Regions from separate parts of the Homo sapiens genome. Here region 2 is linked to region 1. The links are contacts of gene promoters, found by promoter capture Hi-C in blood cells and fetal thymus (Javierre and others, 2016). All regions are on one chromosome and are shown on one strand. Each heading gives the region's core, a stretch centred on a gene start or on the middle of the fragment in contact. The rest is flanking DNA. Distances are from core to core; before and after follow the strand shown. Region 1 holds the start of ZNF3 (zinc finger protein 3). Region 2 holds the start of ARPC1B (actin related protein 2/3 complex subunit 1B).

Region 1 (2,856 bases), core at 1-2,500:
GTTCGGAGGCAAGTTTTAAATCAGGGTTCATTTTTTAATATTGATGAATCCTTCAATAATTGTATGTTTACTGCTGCCCTTCGCGAGCCAGCCTGAGAAGCGCGGGCTCGACATCCCCGCGCGCCCCCGCCGCCCGCCCCCAAGGCCGGCGACGCTGGAGCACATGTCCTGAGGCCCAGGACCGTGGTCGGCCGCTTTCGCACATTCGTGGCCAGCAGAGGGCGCAGCCGGCCAGCCCCCGCAGCGAAAGATCCCCGAGTGCCGCGTCAGCGATCGCGCTCCTTGCCCTCGCCGCCTGCCAGCCGCCCTGAGTCAGCAAACCACAGAGAGGCGAGGACCTCCCATTTTCCTAGACAGAACAAGTGGGCGTTGGGGGTACGGGTGAGTGGCAAGAACAACCGACCCGGAAGCGAAACGAGGGGGAACTTCCGTTCTTTGTTCTGTCCCCGGTGTGTGGGTCTGTGACAGGGTCCAACAGGGCCTGGTCCGTGTCCGGTCCCCCAAATCTGTCGTCCCTGCCCCCAGGGTGAGTCCACGCGTCCCCGGGTCTCGCGGTGAGACGGAGGCTGTGGTCGCCGGGGAAGGGGGTGGTGTCTGTGCCACTGCGGCCCGCAGGGTCCCCCGGCCGGCCCGGAGCAGGGTTCGGGGAGGCGCCCCTCCGTCCCCTGCAGCCCGTCCTCTACTCCGCTTCCCCAGGGATCCCCCTAGCCTAGCGGGATCCTGCGTAGGGGTTAGTAATGGGGCTCCGGTTCTGGTTTTGTGACTTTAACGGCGACCCAGCTGGAGCGTTTAAAAGTTTCAGCAGAGCGGTAGGGGCGCCTCTCTCTTGAAAGCAGCTAATGACAGCGACCCTAACTTGGTATTTCTCCCAGACGTTTTTATTTGATGTTAACACAGTTATTCGCGCCCGTGGCAGGAGAGGAAGTTTATTTTTACGCAGCTGGGTCCAAGGATCAGAGAAATTCTGCTAAGCGTACGCAGTTAGCACGAGGGCTGGGAGTGGGTGCAGACGCCGATTCCAGGGGTAATCCTGCTGGAGCCCAGTGCATCGCGTGATACACCTGGCTCAGGCTCCGTTTTCAGTTGTATTAGATTCCTGGTTTGATCCTCTCTCCGGAAGTGGGATTGAATCCACATCGGTGTTTACACTCTGAAGGGCTTTTGTAAACTCCAGGAGAAGATAGCAGAGTGATGAACCTGAAACCGATGGGCTAATTAGAGGAACGAGCGTATTATTTTCTCCAGAAAAGACATCTGTGGAGAGTGGGCATCATTTGATTATACGTGTTTGATGGACAGTCGGGTGGAAGGAGAAGATTCTGTTATTGAAGCTCTTTTTTTAAAAAAATTAATTTTTATTTATTTTTGAGACTGTCTCTGGAGTGCAGTGGCGCGATCTCGGCTCACTGCAACCTCCGCCTCCCGGTTCAAGCGCTTCTCCTGCTTCAGCCTCCCGAGTGGTTGGGACTACAGGCGCCCGCCACCACCTCCGGCGAATTTTTTGTATTTTTAGTAGAGACGGGGTTCCGCCCTTTTGGCCAGGCTGGTCTGCAACTCCTGGCCTCAAGTGATCCACCTGCCTTGGCCTCCCAAAGTGTTGGGATTACAGGCGTTAGCCACCGCGCCCGGCCTTTTTTTTTTTTTTCCTTTTAAAATGTTTGTGTGTGTATTAAGGTCTTGCTCTGTTGCCCCCGGCTGGAGTGCCGTGGTGCCATCATGGCTCACCATAGCCTGGAACTCCTGGGCTCAAGTAATCCTCCCACCTCAGCCTCCTAAAGTGCTGGGGTTACAGGCGTGAGCCACTGCAGGTCGCCAGTCATTGAATTTCTGTGATGCACTAGGTCTCTGTGCGGTGAAGGTCCAAGGAGATAGATTTTCAGCGAATCACCTGAAGACTTCTAATGGCTCAGCTGTGCAATGTGGATCCCCTGCTGAAGTAGTTCGGAGCACAGTGTCTAGCAAGTTAGCTGACAGAACGTTAGAACTTTCTTACCCTGGGTGGAGGTGGACCTGAGAACCTACCATTCCCTTTCATCTCTCCACGGGTGCAACGCAAATACTAGTTGTGGTGGTGGTCTTAATTGGTATTTATTAGCATATAATAAGTATTCTCTTTTTTTTCCTTTTCTTTAAATGTCTTGATTAGAAATGAAGTTTAGGCTGGACTCGGTGGCTCATGCCTGTAATCCCAGCACTTTGGGAGGCTGAGGTGGGAGAATCACTTGAGGCCAGGAGATTGAGACCAGCCTGAGCAACACAGTGAGGCTGCATTTCTACAAAAAGAATTTTAAAAAACTCAGCCAGATGTGGCAGTGCACACCTTTAGTCCCAGCTCCTTGGGAGGCTGAGCTGGGAGGATCACTTGAACTTAGGAGTTTGAGTCTGGAGTGAGCTCAAACTCACTGCACTCCAGCCTGAGCAGCAGAGTCAGACCCTGTCTCATGGAAAAAAAAAGACGTTTGCATGAATATTTTAAATTCCTTTTTTTCCCCTTAATCACACAGCATTGGCATCAACAAAAGTCAGAATTCCCGGGAACTTGAACAGAGGCTGCTAAATTCCCAGTAATTGCTCCTTTGGCCTTCTAGGGACTGACTTCAAAGAAGGAAGGAAAGAATCAGGCAGGTAAAGCTTTCCGTGTCTTGTTCTTACTGCCAGGCCATCTATCTCGGTCCCCACGGGCAGCACCAGGGAGTGAGGCTGGCAACAGAGCAGGGGAAGGGCCCTGTCTGGACCTGAAGCCATGGGGGCACAATGGAGAGTTTTCTTTCTGTGAGAAACGCTGTTTACTGATCTGGACACTGGGTGCTTGTTCTCAACAATATGCCTTTGAGTTCCAGCTTCACTTAACCCAGC
Region 2 (2,700 bases), core at 109-2,608, 710 kb after region 1:
GTTACGTGGCTTTTTTTTTTTTTTTTGAGACGGAGTCTTGCTCTGTTGCCCAGGCTGGAGTGCAATGGCGTGATCTCGGCTCACTGCAACCTCTGCCTCCCGGGTTCAAGCAATTCTCCTGCCTCAGCCTCCTGAGTAGCTGGGATTACAGGTGCGTGCCACCATGCCTGGGTAATTTTTGTATTTTTAGTAGAGACAGGGTTTCACCATGTCGGTCAGGCTAGTCTCGAACTCCTGACCTCAAGTGATCCGTCCACCTCGACTCCCAAAGTGTTGGGATTACAGGCATGAGCCACAGCGCCTGGCTACATTTTATTTATTTATTTTAATAGAGAAAGGGTCTCGCAATGCTGTCCATGCTGGCCTCCAACTCCTGGCCTCAAGCGATCCTCCCGCCTGGGCCTCTCAAAATGCTAGGATTCTATGTGTGAGCCACCGCGCCCGGCCGGGATGGGTGGTGGTAGCCTCCGGGCTGCATTGGCAGAGGAGGCAGGGGGAGGTCTGACTCCCCAGGCTTGCACTCCTGATCCCTTCACTGCCCGCGGGTGCAGCCCGGCCCCGCCCCGCCCTAGGCGGCCTGGCTGCTCTCCCAGCGCCTCCGGAAAGGGAGGGGCTGCTCGGATCTGCCCTGGCCGCGGAGCCCTGCAGCTGAGGGGGTGCGTTCCGGGACCCCGCCAGCCAGGCCCGCCCCGTACGGGACCCCTCGGACCTGGCCCGGGGGAGGCGGGTGGGAGCAGCGGGAGCGGCCAGGAGGGCAGGGGCGGGGCGGCAGGAGACGCCAGCTCATTTCCCGGCGGCTGCAACCCGGAAGGCTCCGGGGATGGAGGGGAAGTGACTGGGTGTGGGGCCCCGCCGGCCCGAAGTAACGGGGCTACACCGACCGACCGCGGGGCAAGGCTGGGGATGGGGGCCGGGGAGCAGGGGCGGAAGGCACGAGGCGGAAGCTTGGGGCCGGGGGCTGGGGACGCCCCGAGGGCGCCCGGTGCGCTGGGAGCCCGCGTTTCCACAGTCTGGCCCTGCGGCCACCCCCGCGCCCCCTCCAATCCCAGGGCTCCCTCTCCTTTCCGTGAGCCCCTCGTCCCCGCGCCCCCTCCTCTCCATGTGCCCCCACTCATCCCCGTGCCCCTATTGGGCGGCGCCCCACATCTATGCGTCCTCACTTCCAGGCGCCCCCCGGTCCCCTCCTTGCACCCCCTCTCATCCCTCCAGTCCCGCTCACTCCCAGGCGGCGCCCCACATCTACGCGCCCCCCCACCTCCAGGTGGCTCCCCTGACCCCCACCTCCGGGCGCCCCCACGGCCCTCACCTCCCGCGCCCCGGCCGCGGACTCTGGGCAGTCGACGCGCCGAACCGGCTCTGGGCTCCGCGCCGGAGCAGCAGCCACTTCCTCGTGGGCGGGGGGCGGGGCCTGCCGACCTCAGCCCGGTAGGGCCCGGGGGCGGGGACCTGGGGCAGCGGTCGCGAGATCCAGGTCCCGCCCTCCCTTCGGGGTGGGGGTGCTGCCGGTACCCGCGCAGACGTCGGAGCCCAAGGCTCTGTCCGCAGAAGCCGTCCGCAACCACCGTCAATGCTTTACCAATGGGGAAACTGAGGCTGGGAGCCAGGCGCGCAGCCTGAGCCGCCGCTGGGCTGGACCTCCGAGCCTGGGCCGGGCGCACGGCCCCCGGGGACTGCCGGGCGCAGGGTCGGGGAGTCACGTCCTCTGAGCCCGGACGGCGGGTACTGCGGGCTCCGCGCTCACACGCAGGTGAGCGGCTAGCGAGCCCTGCAGCCCCGTCGGCAGCCAGCGAGGAGCTCCCTTCACGCTGATGCCGGTGGGCGCCAACTGTGCAGGCCCTGGGCGGGGAGCAGGCGGTCCGGGCGTGGCCAGGGCAGCCCGGCCCCGCCCCCTTGGCCCTCCGTGTCCTCGCCACGAAACAGGGGTGCTGTCCCCGGGCAGGGTGACACTGGCCGCCCCTGCTGACGCTGGCCGGCCAGTTAACTTCTTTCCTTTCTGTTTTACGTCAATCGGCTTCACTTCTTTAAGTTACCCGGTTAGCCTTGCAGAGCCGCCTGATTGCGGGTCTTGGGCTAGGTGGTCCCCGGAGTCTTCCCATCCTGACCCTCTGCCTCTTCAGTGGATACGTGGCCTGGCGGCCAGGCAGATGGAAGAGACCCCAGTGAAAACCTTACCTCGGCCGGTCGCGGTGGCTCACGCCTGTAATCTCAGCACTTTGGGAGGCCGAGGCGGGAGGATCACGAGCTCAGATCGAGACCATCCTGGCTATCACGGTGAAACCTCGTCTCTACTAAACAATACAAAAATTAGCCAGGCGTGGTGGCGCATGCCTGTAATCCCAGCTACTCGGGAGGCTGAGGTAGAAGAATCGCTTGAATCTAGGAGGCAGAGGTTGCAGTGAGCCGAGATCGCGCCATTACACTCCAGCCTGGGCGACAGAGTGAGACTCTGTTTCAAAAAAAAAAAAAATTAGCTGCAAGGAGCCCCATGGCGTGATGGAGCGCTGCTGTAATCCCAGCTACTCGGGAGGCTGAGGCACGAGAATTGCTTGAACCCCGGGGGCAGAGGCTGCAGTGAGCCAAGATGGGGCCCCTGCACGCCAGCCTGGCAACAGAGCGAGACTTCCTCTCAAACAACAACAAAAACCTTCCCTCCTCTTCTCTCCTTCAGACCCCTCTCTCTAGTATTTGTGCAGGGTCTTC

The links. The method cuts DNA at HindIII sites, captures the fragments that hold promoters and counts their contacts. A CHiCAGO score of 5 or more calls a contact.
Region 2: the fragment with the promoter of ARPC1B here is called in contact with a fragment that was not itself captured in region 1 in 1 of 17 cell types (fetal thymus); the score reaches 6.3 in fetal thymus.

The regions. Positions count from the first base shown.
Region 1 is chr7:100,079,305-100,082,160 of GRCh38, reverse strand. It overlaps ZNF3 (zinc finger protein 3), which reads left to right and starts at 438. Exons shown (of 6, transcript NM_032924.5): 1 at 438-526; 2 at 2,505-2,625. RefSeq lists a silencer at 30-109 and enhancers at 1-193, 350-499. The HindIII fragment of the contact is 2,766 bases long and covers 1-2,633 here.
Region 2 is chr7:99,373,388-99,376,087 of GRCh38, reverse strand. ARPC1B (actin related protein 2/3 complex subunit 1B) reads right to left here and starts at 1,358. Exons shown (of 10, transcript NM_005720.4): 1 at 1,307-1,358. RefSeq lists silencers at 448-1,087, 1,098-1,977 and an enhancer at 2,278-2,700. The HindIII fragment of the contact is 2,162 bases long and covers 947-2,700 here.